7 separate regions of the Homo sapiens genome follow, and regions 1, 2, 3, 4, 5 and 6 are each linked to region 7. Evidence: promoter capture Hi-C in 16 types of primary human blood cells and fetal thymus (Javierre and others, 2016). All regions are on one chromosome and are shown on one strand. Each heading gives the region's core, a stretch centred on a gene start or on the middle of the fragment in contact. The rest is flanking DNA. Distances are from core to core; before and after follow the strand shown. Region 1 has its middle 22 kb from the start of SEH1L. Region 2 overlaps TUBB6 (tubulin beta 6 class V). Region 3 has its middle 21 kb from the start of TUBB6. Region 4 has its middle 1.6 kb from the start of TUBB6. Region 5 overlaps AFG3L2 (AFG3 like matrix AAA peptidase subunit 2). Region 6 overlaps AFG3L2 (AFG3 like matrix AAA peptidase subunit 2). Region 7 holds the start of SPIRE1 (spire type actin nucleation factor 1).

Region 1 (2,700 bases), core at 167-2,666, 270 kb after region 7:
GTCAGCGTATCCATTCATCACATAGAGTGGCTAATATATATTTTTCATGCAACTTTCTAAGAATTAAAATGTATTCATATAGAAAAATATCTGTCATTTATTTTTGTTGGATTCTAATTTATAATCATGAAAATCAATAATCTAATTTGAATTTACTTGCTCTTCTTACCATCATCTAAATCATTATTAAATGAAGCCAAGTGATATGCTTCTCTTCATCTCTAAGTGGAAATGCACATTCAATTTATTTTAAAACATTTTGCAAAGCAACATCACTTTCGGAAAACACTTAATAATTGCCTGGCAAATTATTCTCTACGGCCTAGTGCTATTCTTGTTGAATTCAAGAGCTCGATGCAGGAAAACCTCGGGGGACTGAATAAAGAGCATCCTCCTGTTCTAAAGACGGGCCAAAGGGAAAGAAGCCCAGATTCCACAATCTTTCTCCCAAAACTTGAACGTTCAATTAGCTAAGTTTAGCTGCCCTGGCCCTTCTTGTGCTAAGCTTGGTTTGTTCCCATCTCTCTGTTGCACTCAGGAGCTGAAGGTGCCCTTTTCCATGCAGCATAGACATAGTTGTGGAGGCACGGGGGAGACAGGGCACCCTGCTACGGGAGGGTCTGAGGACACAGTGCTGCCTGCAAATCCTGTGCTCAGCATGGCTCTTCCTAGTTCAGCACAGGAACTGCTTGCCCTTCTTCTGTGTCCCCAAACCTAGAGGAGATATTCAAAATATGTAAGGGCCAGGACAGTGAGGGCACTGATGAATCAGAAGAGATGCCCACCAGTAAGCTGAACCGGGACTTCCCAGCTAATGGTCAGCCCTGTTCAGACCCCTAAGCCCTAACCTGCCTCCTCAGCTCTCCATCCACCCCAGCCCCTTGAGAGTGTTTCTAGATACCAAAGAGTAGCCAAATGTGTCAGGAGACATGGCCTAGGGCAAGACATGCGGGAGCAGCATTCTGGTCTGGACAAATGACAGGGGAGGATGAGCCTCAAAGGAGGAAGGTAGGAGAGAGAGAGAAGTGCCAAAGAAATTAGAATTAAAAAGAGACAGGCTGGGCCGGGCGCGGTGGCTCAGGCCTGTAATCCCAGCACTTTGGGAAGCCAAGGCAGGCAGATCACGAGGTCAGGAGATGGAGACCATCCTGGCTAACACGGTGAAACCCGGTCTCTACTGAAAAAAATACAAAAAAATTAGCCAGGCGTGGTGGCAGGCACCTGTAGTCCCAGCTACTCGGGAGACTGAGGCAGGAGAATGGCGTGAACCTGGGAGGCGGAGCTTGCAGTCAGCCAAGATTGTGCCATTGCACTCCAGCCTGGACGACAGAGCAAGACTCTGTTTCAAAAAAAAAAAAAGTAGAGACAGGCTGGGCGCAGTGGCTCATGCCTGTAATCCCATCACTTTGGGAGGCTGAGGGGGGGACGGATCACTTGAGGTCAGGAGTTCAAGACCAGCCTGACCAACATGGAGAAACCCCGTCTCTACTAAAAATACAAAAATTAGCTAGTCCTGGTGGTGCACGCCTGTAATCCCAGCTATTTGGGAGACTAAGGTGGGAGAATTGCTTGAACCTGGGAGGCAGAGGCTCCAATGAGCCAAGATCATGCCACTGCACTCCAGCCTGGGCAACAGAGGGAGACTCTGTCTTAAAAAGAAAAAAGAAAAGAAAAAGGAGATAGACACACACCCCGCTGCTGGGATACATGCAGTTGGGCCAGGTCTGCAGGGACTCAGATGATCTGCTCTGGCTCTCGCCCAACAGCTTGGAATGGTCCAACTCATCTCACAGGCAGTGGGCAGTTAAAGGGTCTGCTGTTTTGCATGTTTGCTCCTGGGGCATGGTCCTCAGAACAGGCAGGAGTGCACAAGACAGGGTAAAGCCCCTCAGAGTGCCAAAGGGTGTGTTCATATGCCTGACAATATGCTCTTCTGGCAGGGAGATTGGCAGCTGCATATGCCTGGGAGGATTTGGGGAACCCAGGGACCTGCATGTCCAGCTAGAAATGCCACACTTCTTCCTCCCCTGTGTAGCCTTCTCGGGGTGGACATGTTTCTGTGTCCGCCGCCGTTAGAGAAACCTTATGCCATTTCACTGTTTGTGTTTTGTGAATCGCTGTCTATTGTGGCAGCAGCACACATACACATTTGCAGACAGATTCCAGAACAAGAGTGGTAATTGACCGTCCACAAAAGCACTTGGCTCCCAGGTTATAAGCCACATTTTCTATATTATTTATCTTTCTTCCAAGACAGAACTCCCGTGAGGAAAAGGCTGACTCACAACCATTTCTCCAGTCACCTCCCTTGAAGAACATTAGGGTAGGAAGCTTCCTGGTGAAAGGACCTTTGTTCACCTGGATGCAGTCTTTGGCTCTGTCTCCCCTAGACATTCCTAGGAAAAGGGGAGCACATCTAAGGAAAACAAAGCTGCAGTTTGGCTCATCAGTGGGACTTACCCTTGGAAGGTGATACCTAGCTGAAAGGCAACCTGGAGGTGATTTTTGTTCAGCAGTCAGCTGTGTATAATGGCAACTATTGAATAATGAGGCCTACGGCTAGTTGATTGATTAAAATGGAGCGTGGTGTAGTGCCTGGCCACTCAAAATACGATCCATGGATCAGTATCAGCACTACCTGAAGCTTATCAGAAAAAGAAGCACTTGGTCCCATCCAAGACCTATGTGTGAGAATCTGCA
Region 2 (2,788 bases), core at 158-2,657, 330 kb before region 7:
AAGGTGTCGGACACGGTGGTGGAGCCCTACAATGCCACACTGTCGGTGCACCAGCTGGTGGAGAATACAGACGAGACCTACTGCATCGACAACGAGGCGCTCTATGACATCTGCTTCCGCACTCTGAAGCTGACAACGCCCACCTACGGGGACCTCAACCACCTGGTGTCCGCCACCATGAGTGGGGTCACCACCTCGCTGCGCTTCCCGGGCCAGCTCAATGCTGACCTGCGCAAGCTGGCGGTGAACATGGTGCCCTTCCCGCGCCTGCACTTCTTCATGCCTGGCTTCGCGCCGCTCACCAGCCGCGGCAGCCAGCAGTACCGGGCCCTGACCGTGCCCGAGCTCACCCAGCAGATGTTCGACGCCAGGAACATGATGGCCGCCTGCGATCCGCGCCATGGCCGCTACCTGACCGTGGCCACCGTGTTCCGCGGGCCCATGTCCATGAAGGAGGTGGACGAGCAGATGCTGGCCATCCAGAGTAAGAACAGCAGCTACTTCGTGGAGTGGATTCCCAACAACGTGAAGGTGGCCGTGTGCGACATCCCGCCCCGCGGCCTGAAGATGGCCTCCACCTTCATCGGCAACAGCACGGCCATCCAGGAGCTGTTCAAGCGCATCTCCGAGCAGTTCTCAGCCATGTTCCGGCGCAAGGCCTTCCTGCACTGGTTCACGGGTGAGGGCATGGATGAAATGGAGTTCACCGAGGCGGAGAGCAACATGAACGACCTGGTATCCGAGTACCAGCAGTACCAGGATGCCACCGCCAATGACGGGGAGGAAGCTTTTGAGGATGAGGAAGAGGAGATCGATGGATAGTCGGAATAGAGCCGCCCCAACTCAGATCCTACAACACGCAAGTTCCTTCTTGAACCCTGGTGCCTCCTACCCTATGGCCCTGAATGGTGCACTGGTTTAATTGTGTTGGTGTCGGCCCCTCACAAATGCAGCCAAGTCATGTAATTAGTCATCTGGAACAAAGACTAAAAACAGCAGAGAATTGCGGGTTCTACCCAGTCAGAAGATCACACCATGGAGACTTTCTACTAGAGGACTTGAAAGAGAACTGAGGGGCCACAAAATAAACTTCACCTTCCATTAAGTGTTCAAGCATGTCTGCAAATTAGGAGGGAGTTAGAAACAGTCTTTTTCATCCTTTGTGATGAAGCCTGAAATTGTGCCGTGTTGCCTTATATGAATATGCAGTATGGGACTTTGAAATAATGATTCATAATAAAATACTAAACGTGTGTCTTCATCTCTCTAGCCATGTGCATAAATGACGTAAGTTACTTTGTATGGTTACAATGGCTACTTGGGTCACTGGTCTCTCCCTGGGGTGAACTCCTCCCCACTTCAGTTCACGAAAACAACAGAGGAAAGGGCTCTTCTTTAAATGGAGGCTTTAAGGGGGGCAGCCAAAACTGTTGCTAGCTGGAAGGCAATGCAGTACAGACAAAAGCCCCTCCTCCATCCGCAGCCACCTTTTAGACTCCCACAGGATCTTGCATTTTCCCAAGTCAGGTCCTGGGCTAGGGTTCCCCAACCTTGTAGGGGAACAAACAGCCCCAAAAGGCCTCCGGACAAAGCCAGGGGTGCTGGGTGGGAGCTGGGGTGCCAACAGCCAGCCCTGCATGGAAGGGATGGGCCCTTTTCTGCTGTGACCCATCACACCTGATGGCTTCTACCACCGGCCACACCTTTGGAGTTTCCAAAGATAAACTCCACGGGGCACGCACAGTAGCCCTGCTAGTGCCTGGTACAGACCTCACTGTTGACAATATTTTTGCTTTACTTCTTCCTGCCCTCTTGAAGCTGTGAACGTGGGACTTGCTCTAGCCATAAGAATGGGCATAGTGTGTCACCCCCGAGTGGAAGCGTCATGTGCCAGTGCCAGCCCTCCTGCTCTGCCTCCCACGTGGGCAGCCCCCCCGATCCCTCCTGTCCACCCGTCCAGGTTCCTGAGTGACCATCCTGGGCAGAGCCCACTCTGACCTGTGTTGGACAGGGAATAAGAGACAGACAAAGCTTTGTCATTCGGGACCACTTAGGGTTAGGGTTCCCCACAGTACAACCACAACACCACCCTTGGTCTGTGATCCCAGGCCTTACATTGACTAGCTGTATTTATTTTGTGTTAAGCCCCAGCCTTGGGCAGATGGAAAGTTCATCACTAAACACAGCAGCATGGCTTGAGGTGATCACAGATCTTTTTGCAGAAATCTGAACTATTCTGAGACCACAGTAAAAATAAATCTTACCAGCTCACCACCCACATCTGTCCTGAAAACATGTTCTGTGTGACCGTGGAAAGATCTATGCATGAGCAGGCCCCACAAGATGGTGGCACAGGGAGCCACGGTTGCTCCTAGCACAGAGGGCCACTTGCACAGGTTGAGCAGCCATCCAGGGCCCAGAGCTTAAGGTTGCTCACCTCACCAGAAACATGGGTGTTGTCGGTGCTATCTGGCTTTGTCACTCTTACTGTATCAAGCCTGACAGACAGTGGGCCCCACTCTCGTCCCCCGGGAGGTCTCACAGCCAAGGCCTGTGAGAGGGCAGCCCACGCTGGCTCCATGCCTTGCAGTGGTTGGATAAGGAGTAGAGAGCGTCTCCTAATCGTCTACTGCCTGTATGGTAAAAAGCACACCCAGCACCCTCACAACTGTGTGAGCCTCAGCCTGGAAACAATGCTTCATTGGGCACCTCCCAAAAACACCCTATGAGGAAAGGAAGTGGCCAGTGTGGCAATGCCTGCAGGTGCAAAGGTCCAGCAGGGGGCGCC
Region 3 (2,700 bases), core at 101-2,600, 370 kb before region 7:
AATGGGGCCGGACGTGGTGGCAAGCACTTGTAGTCTCAGCTACTAGGGAAGCTGAAGTGGGAGGATCACTTGAGCCCAGGAGATGGAGGCCAGCCTAGGCAACATAGCAAAACCCCCATCTCTAAATAAAAATAAAAATAAAGAGCTTGGAGCCTGGATGGGGCTGGGCATATAGCAAGCACAGATGCTTGGGAAGTACACCCTTTAATTTTCACACTAAGGAGAAAGAAAGGGCTAAGAGTAGTTCAATACAGTATCTTCAAAAGGTTTGACCATTTATTTGCCCATTTTTTCCTGAAAAGAGTGAATGAAAACATTTACTATAACTCAGATACTAATACACCTTTTTGTTTCTTTTCTTTAAGAAACAGGCACAGTTGTTAAGATCTGTTTCAGATGAAGTTGGGTGATGGATACATGGGCTTTCATTAGTCTCTGATTTGGGTATGTTTTTAATGTTCTATAATGAAAAGGGTTTTATTGATTGATTTCTTTTCTTTTCTTTTTTTTTTTTTTTTGAGACAGAGTCTCGCTCTATCCCCCAGGCTGGAGTGCAGTGGTATGGAGTACAGGGGCGTGATCTCGGCTCACTGCAACCTCCGCCTCCCGGGTTCAAGCGATTCTCATGCCTCAGCCTCCCAAGTAGCTGGGATTACAGGCACCTGCCACCAGGCCTGGTTAATTTTTGTATTTTTAGTAGAGATGGGGTTTCACCATGTTGGCCAGGCTGATCTCAAACTCCTGACTTCAGGTGATTCACCCACCTCGGCCTCCTGAAGTGCTGGGATTACAGGCAGGAGCAACCGCGCCCGGCCAATTGATTGATTTTTTTTAAATGCTTCCTCCCTCCCAGGGAACTGTGAATGAAGCTCTTCTTTTAAATGTATATATTTCAGAGATGGGGATCTCACTGTGATGCCCAGGCTGGTCTTGAACTCCTGGCCTCAGCTGGTCTTGAACTCCTGGCCTCAAGTAATCCTCCTACCTCGGCCTCCCAAAGTGCTAGATGACAGGCATGATCCCGGCCAAGCCCTTCCTTTAACCACAGCTCTGGAGACTGTCACTTGGACGACCAGGGCTGCCAGGGTTTCCGGAGGGCACGGCCTCCTGACTGCTCAGGGCTTCCTCAAGGTGAGCTCAAGACCCGCAGGGCTTCCCTATGGCAAGCCGTCGAGGCTTTCTTTGGATGCAGGTGGCCGCAGAGCGCTCATGCGGCGTCGGTGCTGGCAGCCAGGTGAGCTGCGCCAGCTCAGCCCGAATGAGCGGTGTCAGGCTATGCACCGTGCTCCCGCCCGCCCTGCGCCCAGACCTCCGCCTGCCCTGGAGGTGAAGGACGCGGGCTCCCCACGCTCCCCCGAGTGATGGTGCAGAGGCGTACTCCCTCTCGGGGTCCCCACTCCACATTCCGGCGTCCTCGGAACAGCCGGCACAGGCAGGGCGGGCGTCAGCTGTCCGGTCGCACCTCCCTGCAGGGGCATTCCTTGGCCTGCTGCTGCCTGCCAGGCTGACCCAGGCGCAGGCGCTCAGGTAAAGGCAGTGGCCAGCCCAAGCTGCCGACCCAGCCGCTCCTCCCAGCAGAGGCCAGGTGAGGAGGCGAGGATGGTGGGGGTCGCCCAGGGAGAAAAATCTCATCCGACAAGGAAAGCCTGGTGACCCCCTGTCTGCCTGGGCAGAACTCCCCTCCCAGGAATGAGCTTTGGACAACGTGGTTCCTCCCGTTGAATCAGGTTCTGACCGAGTCCGCTGCAGCTGCAGGCGGGGGCGCCCTGCCGAGCAGATACCCAGCGGAGCTCCGGGGCCCCGTTTCTACTGTAAGCAGCTGGGGGCCAAATGTGCGCCCGGGCACGTCTCTTGGCCTCTCCCAGACTCGGCACCCTCATCTGTAAGAACGTGAACGATGTCCGCCCTGGACAGGACTGCGGTCGCGAGAGGTGCCCGGGCCAGGCAAGGGACACAGCGCGGATCTGCTGGTTTCCCCCTTGATTCCATGCGTGGGCGTGAAGCGTATTCTTGGGAGTCAGGCACAAATGTGACTTAGTAAGGAAGGGTGAGCGTTGCTGGGATGGGTGGGGAAAAATGTTTTCTGCATCACGGGGCCAGCTGGAGCGGGGAGTGGCCACCGCAGGATTCCTGGGTGCAGCTGAGACAGCTGGGGCGGGGCGTGCTGGGCTCACACTGAGTTCAACTCTCCAAATAGCCCTCGCGCCACTGTCCAGAACAGACGATAAGAATTTCACAGGACTTTCGTCTGGAAGTTTGCGGTTGACAATGCGTTTTTACCTACATGATCACAGTAACTTTCCCAGCAAGGCTGTTAGCTAAAGAAGGTGCCCTCCCCGCCCTGGAGCCTGAGAGAGGACGAGCTGCAGCCTTGTCCAAGAGAAAGGCCCGGGGGACCCAGCCATCCACCTCCCTGCCCACCACCACCCTTCCTTCCAAGGAGCACGCAAGACCAAGCCTAGGACTCGCTACAAAGCTCGGTTCCTAACTAGACCGGCGGGGACTGACTAGGAATGGAATCCAGGCAAACACCTGGCCGATCATAATCAGGTGCAAACCATTCTGATTCTATTTTTTAATGCCATTCTAATTTATAATATGTTAAACTCTGAGAAAAGCCTAGAGAGAGCCACTTTGCTAAGGCGTGCATTATTCAATTTTTCCTTATTCCAGTCATAATATTCTGGGTCCTCCTCTCAT
Region 4 (2,700 bases), core at 6-2,505, 350 kb before region 7:
TGTCCTTGCCTGCCCCCTCCCTACAGGGCCACTGGGATGAGCCCACAGCTCCTAGATGGCACCTCAGCCCCCCGGACCTCAGGAGTCCCTGCCCAGACCTCCCCAAACCTACTCCTAGGGCCCCTTCTTCCCGCAGGGTGGCCTGGGATGGCTGTGAGTGGCTGAGGACTGAAGTGTCCACAGGCATGTACTGGAGACCCATCTCGGCGTGGGACAGAATTGGAGGTGGGGAGAAAGGCGGGTGTTGAAAGTGAGGACTGCAGGCTGAGACCAGCCCCCGCACTTCCACGCCCTGATGCAAATCAACGAGGAGCCCAAGAAGTCTACCGATTTCTTTTTTATTTTATTTTATTTTATTTTTATTGAGACGCGGTCTCACTCTGTCACCCTGGCTGGAGTGCAGTGACATGATCACAGCTCACAGCAACCTCCACCTCCCAGGTTCAAGCAATCAATCCTCCCACCTCAGACTCTGGAGTAGCTGGGTACAGGCATGTACCACCATGCCTGGCTAATTTTTTAACTTTTTGTAGAGACAAGGGTCTCACTATAATGCCCAGGCTGGTCTCGAGGTCCTGGGCTCAAGCAATCCTGCCATGTCAGCTTTGGAAGTTTTGGGATTACAGGCGTGAACCACTGTGCCCGGCCTAGCCTGAGAATTCTAAACTGGAACCTGGCTTTCCAGATACCATGGTGTATTTTTTAAGGTAGGAGAAGAGAATGTGTCCTCTACGCTTTTTTAAGTTTGGTTTGCGGCTTGTGTGCATTTGGACACACCGCGTCACAAACAGCCTCGCCCAGGAGGAGTGAGGGCCACAGATCGGGAGGGTAGGGGGCCCAGAGCCTGGAGAGCCCCAGGCCGGGCTCACAGGTCAGGGTTTCACCTGCCGGCTCCCAGAAGGGAGTGGCCAACAGACACCAGGGAAGTCAGGGTTGGGATTCAAAGAGAGGCCAAGGCTGCAGAGAGACTGGGAGCCACTTTAGGAAAGAAACGTGAATTCAGGCTTTGCACAGCAGAACTGTCCCCATGTCCTGGGGAGGCCTTGGTTCATTCTGCGGGGAAATCCCTTGTGTCTTGCGGGGCCCCGCCTCTGATGAGAGGGAAGGGAGATAAGCTTTGCAGGGGGAAGGTTTCCTCCCGGTCTCCTCACTCTTCGAGCACTGAGTTTCTCCAGACAAAGCGCACTCCGCGGGCACCAATCCCTGCAGACAGCGCAGAGCGCACAGCGAGCAGGAGCCCAGAAACCAGCAGGTCGGCTTGTCCCTTGTCAAATCCAAGTGACAACGGACTTCCGGAAGCCACGCTGACACCTACTTTCTGGCTCGATCAGACCCCTGGACTTAAATTCCAGCCCAAGGGCTAGCACTGAAAGGGTGGCTATTTCAGCAAACGACCAAAGCTTCTAAAGTAGACACTTTCTTTTAAACCACTTGATGGCTGGATTTCTTAGAGAGAGAGACTAAAGCTGGAGGAAGGGTTCTTCCAGGGATGGCACAGGCCCTCCGCTCTCGGGCTCCCCACACTAGACTTCGGGCCGGCAGGATGGGTTAAGGTAGCACTCGTTGGAGTCAATAATTAAGCAATGGAAACAAACAGCCTAAATAAGGGTGTTGAGGACTCAGGAGAAGGTGGCTGATTAATCTCAGGCTCATAGTTTGAAATGGGAGCGCAGGGGCTGGGCTGTGGCCTCCTCATCTGCTCCCTGGGCGTGTGGCTGTGTAAAGAGGTGTGGGGACCCACAAGAAGGCCGAGGAGCAGCACTGGGGTGGAGAGAGCAGTGGGGAGGCGGGGACCCAAGGGTTAAAAAAAAAAATTCCTCAATTTGGAAACATTTGCAAAACTCCAGAAGAAAAACTTTTAAAAGTTCTCCACTCCCTTCCAAACGTACAAACATGCACACACACAATTAGGAATTTCCCAAAGTTTTCATCTGTCTAAAAAGAAAGTGCCAGTGCAAATTACAGAACATCGTCGCTTCCTCATGTGCGGCGTTTCTACGGGCCTGGGAGGGGACGCAGAGGCTACCCCGGTGGTCCCAGCCTGCAGCGTTCACGTGAGGAAACTTCCGCAAAAGCCCTGATGCATGCACATTCTGACTGCAGAGGCCAGAGCATCCCGCATTTTGGAGGCTGAAAGGCTCCCCTAGGATAACCTTTTCCGTTAACAGAGGAGTCCGCTGAAGCGCAGAGCTAACTGAAAACAGCTAGAATTAAAATCCAAGTCACCCGGCCGGCATCAGCAGTCATTCCTTTCCACCACACAAAACTGGCCAGGAAGACGGACTCTGGCGCGCCCTCCCAGGCCGAAGCGCATTTCTTCGCTAACGCGCGAGGAGTAGGCTGCATAGACCCGGCGCAGGAGGTGTTCATTTTCGGATCCAGCCCTGTAGTCACTTTAGCTAAACCCGGTTCCAAAGGGGTGGGAGTCGTCGGAGAGGAATGGCCTCTGTATCTCCGGAGACGGAAACACCAGGACGAAGAGGCCCTAAGAACGTGTGCCCGGGGTGCGACCGGGGGGTGGGGGGCAGGGGGCAGAGACCCTGAAAAGCTCCACCGCCGAACCCCAGGGCAGTGTCCCGGCTTGGCTGGACTGGGCGCGGGCGGCTGCAATGCTCCCGGGCGCGGCGCTGGGACCCCGCGGGCCACGTCGGCTCCGCTGCCCCGACGCCAGGGCCCGACTCGCGTCTCCCTCTGGCGGGG
Region 5 (2,700 bases), core at 23-2,522, 290 kb before region 7:
CCACCACAGATGGCCAATTTTTTTACATTTCTTTGTAGAGATGGGGTCTCCCTACATTCCCCAGGCTGGTCTCGAACTCCTAGATTCAAGTGATCCTCCCACCTCAGCCTCCCAAAGTGCACAGATTACAGGTGTGAGCCACCACGGCCAGCCTACATAGGATTCTTAGTAACACTGTTAAAACACCACATCCCAAGGACTGTAACTGGTTTAGGAGCATGAGCGCTCTGGGATGTGCTTATTTCTAACTGCTTGCTTTGTCAGCAAGTCTGGAAGGCAAGAATGACAAACAAAAAGCAAAGGAGCCCCAGAGCAATCCCAGAGGGGCTGGAATCGGGGAGCAACTGTTCTTAAAGGCAGTCTCTGTCAGAGAGGAATGACTGGCACTGCTCCACCCCACAGACACCCGCTGGGGAGACAGCAGACTAATGCCAAAGAGCCAGAGGGTCAGGAGGAGCTGCAGCTATGGAGAAGCCACCTCGAGGACCTGCCATCCCAATCAGAAGGACGGCTGCAGCCCAGTCCACACGCAATGACCACTGCTTCTGAGCAGCTTCTGAGTGGGAGTCCCCACTACATCTGAGAATTACACATATAAGATCCTCACTTTCATAAGATAAACATGTTTCAAAAATCCAACTAGATAAAAGGACTCTGGAAGATGGTGGCATAAGGAAGCACCAGGAACCCATCTCCCTACGCACAGGACAATGGTACAGGCAGGATCTGTCCGATGTAAGCATTTTGGAATTCTGGAGTCCACTGAAGGTTTCCAACTTCCAGGGGAAACATAAACTGAAGTTAATCTCAGTCAACTTCAGCTCTTAGCACAGTAGCAGCTGCTCATTTGAGTAGATAACCATTTCTTACATCCTTACCTTCCTGCACAACCTTCAGAACGAATTCAAATTCTTTACACTACCTCAGTAAGTATTCATGTCGTCTTACTTTATCCATTTCATGGATGAAAACCCAAGTATTAAGAGGTTAAGGGGTTTCCCCAAGGCTACACAGCAGGCCTAATTCTGGTGTCTATCACTACACTGCATCAATTCTTTTTTTTTTTTTTTTTTTTTGAGATGGAGTCTCGCTCTGTCGCCCAGGCTGGAGTGCAGTGGTGCAATCTCGGCTCACTGCAAGCTCCGCCTCCCGGGTTCACGCCATTCTCCTGCCTCAGACTCCCAAATAGCTGGGACTACAGGCACGTGCCACCACACCCGGCTAATTTTTTGTATTTTTTAGTAGATTCGGGGGTTTCACCATGTTAGCCAGGATGGTCTCAATCTCCTGACCTCGTGATTCACCCGCCTCGGCCTCCCAAAGTGCTGGGATTACAGGCGTGACCCACTACGCCCGGCCACTGCATCAATTCTAAGACACACATTTTTCATATTTTAACATCAGAAATGGAGATCCATTTTACAATTGATGGCATGTCATAATTTCATCAGCATCTTATTAGATTTGTCTTAGCAACTTATAAAATACCATGTGTCTTACAATCAATAGCATCTTAAATATGCTGAAATATGGTCTTACTTATTTCCCATTGGTTGTGGTGAATATAGTCACACATGGGCAAGCCCAGCAGACAGTAACAAAGGCTGCTCCGCAGACAGAGAAATGGCAGGGACCACGCACCCACTTGGCCCTCCCTTAGAGCCCCATCTGCTCTGACAACACACGCTGATTAGCTGCCACGCCCACAGGTGACTAAATGTAGTAAAGACCCACAGAGGGCCCAAAGAGGCTGGCACACAACAGCACAAAGCAGGGGCAGACGCTGGCACATGATAGCACAGAGCAGGGGCAGAGGCTGGCACACGACAGCACAGAGCAGGGGCAGCTGAGGGCACGTGAGAAAAGGGCGCAAGCAGAGGACTGCCAAGACCATGGTCAGAAGCAGTGGTTCCAAAACCCAGTTCTGGGAGGTAGTGAAATAAAAGAATTTGTGGGTAAATTTGAGGACACCAGGTCAAAACACGGGTTCTCTAGTTGCAGTACTTCTCAGCATTAGAAAAATCTGAGTGAAAATAACAATTTTACAATGGACGAGCCAGGTTAACCTGCTGACTGTCACTTCTTTGGTCTAATCTGATGAATTTCACCTTTGAACCACAACAGCCACCAATCCCATAAAATACTTACTACTCCTTTTGAAAGATAGTTATTGACAAAGTCCTTCCAAGTGATTTCTCTCCCGGATCTCTTGAGCAGCAAGTAAAACATGACTCCACCCCAGAACAGAGCAGTCCAGAGGAAGAACATCCTGAAATCCTTGTCGTCCCATGGAATGTCACCCTGGGCAGAGAGGGAGACAGCTTCTGTGAAGAATGAAATTCCACAATACGATCTATGCTCTGTGAGACACAAATCCCTCCAACACTACACTAATGCCTCCCAACCTTCTCTGGGCCACCATCATAACCTCAAAATTCACACAATGTATAGCATCAAACCTTCTGAAACCTGGACCACCAGTGAGAATCATCTTTCTTGCCACCTCGTTTTCCACCGCCACCACCTCCTCCTCCAGAAGAGCGTGTGGTAGCAGCTGGCTTTGATTCTGTTCATAAACAAAGAGCACACACAGAAGCACGGCAAGGTTTTAGCTCTCTCAGCAATGTCTTCATGTATACGGTTTAATAAAAGACTCATTGCAGAATACACTGTGGCAACTGATCAGTTACTAAGTGAAGC
Region 6 (2,700 bases), core at 57-2,556, 310 kb before region 7:
ATCCCACCTATCAACGTTTTCTTTTGTGGCTCATGCTTTTTGTGTCCCAAGAAATTTTTGCATGGTCAAGGCCACAGAGATTTTTCCCTGTATTTTCTCCTAGAAGTTTGATGGTTTTAGTTCTTATGACCTGTTTCAAATAATTTTTTGCATATGATGCAAGGGTTAACGTTCACCATTTTTCCTGTGAATACTCTGTTGCCAGAACCACCTGTAGATAAGACAATTCCTCCCCCTTGAATTATCCTGGTACCTCTGTGAACCAAAAGTTTGTGGTTCACTTTCCGGGCTCCATTCCACCCCACTGGCCTGCGTGCCAGTCCTCTTACCAGCACTACACTCTCATCACTGTAGCTGCACAGTCTTAATACTGGGATGAGTAACTTACTGTTTTGGCTACTCTTACTCATTTGTATTTCCATATCGGTTTTAGATTCAGCTTCTCAATTTCCACAAAAAAAAAAAATCTGCTATAATTACCAGAGATTGCACTGAAATTATCAATTAGTTTTGGGAGAACTGATGTAACACTCCATGAGCAAAGTCCACCTCTATTTTTATTTAGGGCTTGTTATCAATGTGCATGTCCTACAAATATTTTCTTAAATTTATTCCTCCATATTTCGAGTTTTTAGATGCTACTGAAATTGCTAATGAAATTGAATTTTTAAAATTTCATTTTCCAATTGTTTATTGCTAATACACAGAAATACAATTGGTCTTTGTATACTGACCTTGAATTCTTCAACCTTGCTAACTTTACTTATTAGTTCTAGTGGGTTCTCTGTGGGTTCCTTAGGATGTTTTATGGACACTCTAATGTTGTCTTCTCTATGGTTCCCTTGCTTCAGGGGACCCCCACACCCCTGGCCCGCCTCAATTCCCAGCAGCCCTGATACCCATCGCAAGGCAGGGAGGCAGCTGCTTTCTGTCATCTGTGCTGCAGCAGTTCGGGAAATGCCTCAGTTGAAAAGCAAAAAACTTAAAAATCTCACATGGTTCCCCCGTCTTTCAGGGGTAGATTTCTCTTTGGTCTCTGCTTACCCTTTTGCCAGGTTCTCTGGGATTGCCACTGTGCATGTGTAGTTTAGTTGTCGGCCTGAGATTTGGGCAGTTCCTGCTCAGATTCGGGCCTCACCACTTGGTAGTTTTCTTGCTTCTGGGATTTTCCTGTTAAATTTCCAGTATTCTTTAAGTCCTGGACTATCTCCTCTACCACCTCAGGATAATAAAGACTATGTCTCATACCACTGTAGTGTGGAGATTATGAAAAACCCTTTGGCAAGAAAGCCACAGGCTCCCAGTTCAAACCCACTGCAACTGCTGCTTTATAGGAGCAAACTCTCCAGCTCTCGCCTGCTTTTGGACACTCTGTGGTCCCTTTAAATAATTTTCTGTCCAAATTTTATATTTATCTATGGGACGGTTTGTGCAACTATGGTTACCAGAAGTTACCAGAAGTTTTGGCTAAAGCCTTGTTTCTTTCTCCTTTGCAGGAGTGTAGCTTGCTTCTTGAGTGACTGCAGCGAGCATCTGCTCACCCATGCACTGGCTGCCTAGTGCAGCTACCCTGCTTCACCTTTAAAAGCGGGTCTGCGTGCTCCAGATACCAGCCGGCAACCGCATGGCCTGCTTCGTGGTATGCCACAGTCTTCTTCTCCTCAGGCTGCAGAACCTGCGTTTTCTTCTCTAAGCCTAACAAAATAACAACAAAAAAACCCAAGCCATTGTTACAGTGACACTGACATTAAAAGACAGTTATACAGTGCTATACATTGCCTTACCTAAAATGGGGTTTGGAGACTGAGCTGCCTATCACAATCCAAAAATTCCTAATCAAGGCCAGGCGCAGTGGCTCATGCCTGTAATCCCAGCACTTTGGGAGGCTGAGGTGGTCCAATCACTTGAGGTGAGGAGTTCGAGACCAGCCTGGCCAACATGGTGAAACCCCGTCTCTACTAAAAATACAAAATTAGCCAGGCGTCGTGGTGAGCGCCTGTACTCCCAGCTGCTAGGGAGGCTGGGGCAGGAGAATCACTTGAACCCAGGAGGCGGAGGTTGCAGTGAACTGAGATCATGCCGCTGCACTCCAGCCTGGGCTACAGAGTAAGAATCCGTCTCAAAAAAAAAAAAAATTAAATTAAGTTAAAAATTTTTTTAAAAAATTAAATAGAATTCCCAATCAAGGTCAGAATAAAAGCAAAAGGTCAGGTTCAAAATACAACTACAGCAAAAATGCACTCACTCCCCCATCCCCAGGCCTGCTTTCACCCTAACTCTCTCACTTTTAAGCCACACACCCTGTGTTTTGGGAAACAAATAGAAATGTAAAATAAAATTCAGCATTAAGGTCATTTTAAAACACGCAAAATTACAGAAACCAAAACTCTGGAAAGGTCCTCATTGCATAGTCTAGGTATTCAGAATTATCAAATACTGGGCACGCGAAGATGGCTGCCATAAGACACTACCTGCTGTCTGTTCTGCTGGAAGGCAGAAGAGAGTCTGAGAAAGCAGGCAGCCAGTTCAACACCCGGAGCTACCTAGGTGGAGCCAGCCAGGCTGATGCTGGCGCACCCTCACCTAACCAGCCGGCCCTATGGCTCAGAGCAAGCCACAGAAGTGGCAGAGCAGACCCAGAGGGCAAACCCCAGCGACACAGGGCCCACAAGACCCGTGCTGCAGCCTGCGTCCACCACA
Region 7 (2,700 bases), core at 181-2,680:
ACTGATGGGAGAAACCTTTTCTCAACCTCCTCCTCCTCTTCAATGAGCATCTGAGTAAACCCTGGCTATAAATTACTGTTTAGGTCATAATCCTGAAAATTTTACATTAGACAATGACGTAACTAAGGCCCATTTTCTCTTTGTATCCCGACATCCTGTCAACTTTTCACTTTACAAGCCTGTTTTTCATCACAACAAATTTTCACATACAGGAATGCAATCAGTATTTTCTAACGTCCAGGAGCCAAAAATCACTATTTAGTCTATTTTTCCATTTCTCCCCAAAGAGCAGAATTCTCACGGTTCAGAATCATCTTTACATTTCCGAACCGAGGAAAGGCTGTCTAATGTGGAATACTGCTAGTTTCCCGTGAGGAGTGCGGTGTTTCCGACAGCGGCACTGAGGATCCGTGCGGAGCCCCCGCGTGAAGCCTGCGATGCCCTCCCCACCCCGTGAACCCGGCCGTGTGTCAGCAGCCACGGCGTGAGGCGCACAGGCCGCTGGCCCGGAGCAGGGCCCAGCCCACCGCTCCCAAACGCGCCGCGGGCAGCTGTCCCGCGGGCAGCACAATGACGAGCGCCCCGCGGCCCGCAGGCCCAGGCCCACCCAAACGTCCTCCGCACAGCGGATTTGCGCCGTCGCCCGCCACGAGGCTCTGACCTCCGAGGGGCCCCGGCCAGCCACGGCCTGACGCCGTCCTCCCCTGCGGGTCCCCGCCGGATCCTCCCGGGGGTCTCCCGTGGCAAAATGGGGGGGGACGGCGGGGGCGGAAGGGCCGGGGACGCTGAGGGTAAGGCGGCCCAGCCGCGGGTGTTCCAAGAACTACGAGGGAAAGGGGCCCGGCGGCCTCACCCGCAACTGGGGGCGGCTCTCCCGCGTCGTCGGCCGCGGGCGCCAGGGTGACGGCGCCGTCCCTCCAGACGCGGATCTGCGCGGCCGAGCGCACACGGTGGCGGGGCTGGCGGCGGCGGGCGGCGGCGCGCAGGGAACCGCAGCACTGGTAGCACACGGCCCACGCCTGCTCCTCGTTGATGGGCTGGTTGTACAGCCGCAGGATCTCCTCCAGGCTCAGCGCGTCCCGGGAGCCCCCGGCCGCGCCGCCGGCTGCCCCGGGCTCCCGCGGCCCCTCGCCGCCCACTGCCTCAGTCCGCGGCTCCCCGCCGCCCGCCGGGCCAGCCGCCTGAGCCATCCCGCGGGTGGGCGCTGCGCTCGGCAGTCGCGCCGTGTGCCGGCGTCTCCTCAGCTCCGGAGCATCGTCGTCGCGCGCCGCCGCCTCACCATCCCCGGAACCGCCGCCGCCCAACGCGGCCGCGCGCGCCGCCGCCGGGACCAGGCGAGTGCCCGGGAGGCGTGGGCAAGAGGAGGGCGGCGAGGACACGGCTGCAGTCCCGGTCAGACAGCCGCCGGCCGGTAGCGACGCGATGGCGTCCGGCGCCCCGCCCCGCCCCGCCCCGCCTCGCGCCGTCCAGCGCCGCCCAGCGCCCGCCCCTTAGGGGGCCGCACGGGCCGGGGGATGCACGCTCTGGAGGTGAGGACCAGGCAGGAGGGCCTCGCCTCGAGGCGAGATGGCCGCACGGTCTCTAGCCCGCAGGGCTCTCAGAGTCGCAGGCGGTGACGCCCGGTCGGGGGGCCCGGTCGCAAGGGACACACAGCTGGGGGCGCAATGGTGAGGGCGGCGACGCACGGTCCGGAGGGGATGCGCGGCCGGGTAGGGCGTGCAGGGTTGTGGGGCGTGGGGGACACGCGGGGCCGGGCGCGCGGTCGGGGGGCGCAGGGGCAAGAGGGTGTCGCATTTATCAGGGAAGTCCCCGGCCGACTCTGGCGGGGAACTGGGCGCGCCAACCCGGGTCACCGCCCTGCACAGCGGGAGAAGTCACCCGCATTGACGTTCCCTAGGCGCTGGATCGCCGAAGGTCTGGTTGAAAACTTGAACCCGCCTGGAGCGGATGCCTAAGAAAATGCAGGCCCGCTGAAGCCTCCCCGCCGGGCCCTGGGCCCTGAAAGCCTCCGGCAGTTTCCCGTGACCCCGCGGCCGCTCTGCGCGTTTTCCGATTTCTTGCTGGTTGAATACCTCCCTCTCCACTCCCATCTTCAGGGTAAGCACCGTAAAGACGGGGATCTTTACGGGTTTTCCTCACTGACTTCTCCCAAAAGCTAAACCAGCGCCTGGAATATAAACATGTACATAATTTGCAGGTGTTAGTTTTAGCGTCCTTCCGGATTCATTTGTAACATTGGTCCCTTCCCTCACTAAGGTAATGTCTCAAGTACCACACTCATCAGAGCATGTGGAATGAATATCACAGTGGTAAAATTGAACTGAGGGCAATTAGCCGTAGAAAGAAAGAATTCCGCCCCCCCAACCTATTAAATATGCAATAAAACAGATAATTCTTAATCACCCATTGGTAGATTAATTTAATCGATAAAATTCCACTGAGGCTAGTCCTGTGTGAAAGCCCTACAGAGTGTTGAAAGCATCAACCAAATAGGCAATGTATATTAAGTTCCAGTAAACCTTTTACGGCAGTTTTATGTAAAATGTTAGAAATCACGCTCTCAACAATTGCATCTTGCGGTAGAAACTACAACAGTCTATTTAAATAACAACAGTCTATTAAAATGAGATACCATCTTACATACAGCTGGGAATGGGGAGGAGGGAGAAAAGCAACAGGACGAAAAGGAAAATTAAGAAA

Evidence for each region. The method cuts DNA at HindIII sites, captures the fragments that hold promoters and counts their contacts. A CHiCAGO score of 5 or more calls a contact.
Region 1: a fragment that was not itself captured here is called in contact with the fragment with the promoter of SPIRE1 in region 7 in 1 of 17 cell types (M0 macrophages); the score reaches 6.0 in M0 macrophages.
Region 2: a contact is called between a fragment that was not itself captured here and the fragment with the promoter of SPIRE1 in region 7, in 12 of 17 cell types (monocytes, erythroblasts, megakaryocytes and 9 more). The highest score is 13.7, in monocytes.
Region 3: a contact is called between a fragment that was not itself captured here and the fragment with the promoter of SPIRE1 in region 7, in 1 of 17 cell types (erythroblasts). The highest score is 6.0, in erythroblasts.
Region 4: a fragment that was not itself captured here is called in contact with the fragment with the promoter of SPIRE1 in region 7 in 1 of 17 cell types (monocytes); the score reaches 5.7 in monocytes.
Region 5: a contact is called between a fragment that was not itself captured here and the fragment with the promoter of SPIRE1 in region 7, in 12 of 17 cell types (M1 macrophages, M2 macrophages, M0 macrophages and 9 more). The highest score is 12.5, in M1 macrophages.
Region 6: a contact is called between a fragment that was not itself captured here and the fragment with the promoter of SPIRE1 in region 7, in 4 of 17 cell types (M2 macrophages, erythroblasts, M0 macrophages and 1 more). The highest score is 6.4, in M2 macrophages.

What each region holds. Positions count from the first base shown.
Region 1 is chr18:12,924,436-12,927,135 of GRCh38, forward strand. No RefSeq gene overlaps it. Among named protein-coding and RNA genes, the nearest start is that of SEH1L, 22 kb to the right of the region's middle. The HindIII fragment of the contact is 1,826 bases long and covers 504-2,329 here.
Region 2 is chr18:12,325,309-12,328,096 of GRCh38, forward strand. TUBB6 (tubulin beta 6 class V) reads left to right here. Exons shown (of 4, transcript NM_032525.3): 4 at 1-1,308. The coding sequence ends at 822. Among named protein-coding and RNA genes, the nearest start is that of TUBB6, 18 kb to the left of the region's middle. RefSeq lists an enhancer at 2,258-2,788 and a silencer at 2,642-2,788. The HindIII fragment of the contact is 1,244 bases long and covers 786-2,029 here.
Region 3 is chr18:12,286,105-12,288,804 of GRCh38, forward strand. No RefSeq gene overlaps it. Among named protein-coding and RNA genes, the nearest start is that of TUBB6, 21 kb to the right of the region's middle. RefSeq lists enhancers at 924-1,919, 1,920-2,700. The HindIII fragment of the contact is 2,754 bases long and covers 1-2,700 here.
Region 4 is chr18:12,305,277-12,307,976 of GRCh38, forward strand. It overlaps a transcript of TUBB6 not described here. Among named protein-coding and RNA genes, the nearest start is that of TUBB6, 1.6 kb to the right of the region's middle. RefSeq lists a silencer at 2,451-2,700. The HindIII fragment of the contact is 285 bases long and covers 1,114-1,398 here.
Region 5 is chr18:12,364,817-12,367,516 of GRCh38, forward strand. AFG3L2 (AFG3 like matrix AAA peptidase subunit 2) reads right to left here. Exons shown (of 17, transcript NM_006796.3): 4 at 2,460-2,566; 5 at 2,149-2,301. Among named protein-coding and RNA genes, the nearest start is that of AFG3L2, 11 kb to the right of the region's middle. The HindIII fragment of the contact is 2,906 bases long and covers 1-2,700 here.
Region 6 is chr18:12,342,553-12,345,252 of GRCh38, forward strand. AFG3L2 (AFG3 like matrix AAA peptidase subunit 2) reads right to left here. Exons shown (of 17, transcript NM_006796.3): 14 at 1,580-1,695. LOC107985154 (a long non-coding RNA gene) reads left to right here. Exons shown (of 2, transcript XR_002958227.2): 2 at 1,497-1,771. Among named protein-coding and RNA genes, the nearest start is that of AFG3L2, 33 kb to the right of the region's middle. The HindIII fragment of the contact is 9,965 bases long and covers 1-2,700 here.
Region 7 is chr18:12,656,677-12,659,376 of GRCh38, forward strand. SPIRE1 (spire type actin nucleation factor 1) reads right to left here and starts at 1,431. Exons shown (of 17, transcript NM_001128626.2): 1 at 854-1,431. The coding sequence starts at 1,190. It also overlaps a transcript of PSMG2 not described here. RefSeq lists silencers at 851-970, 1,161-1,580, 1,450-1,618, 1,621-1,690, 1,741-1,890. The HindIII fragment of the contact is 7,532 bases long and covers 1-2,700 here.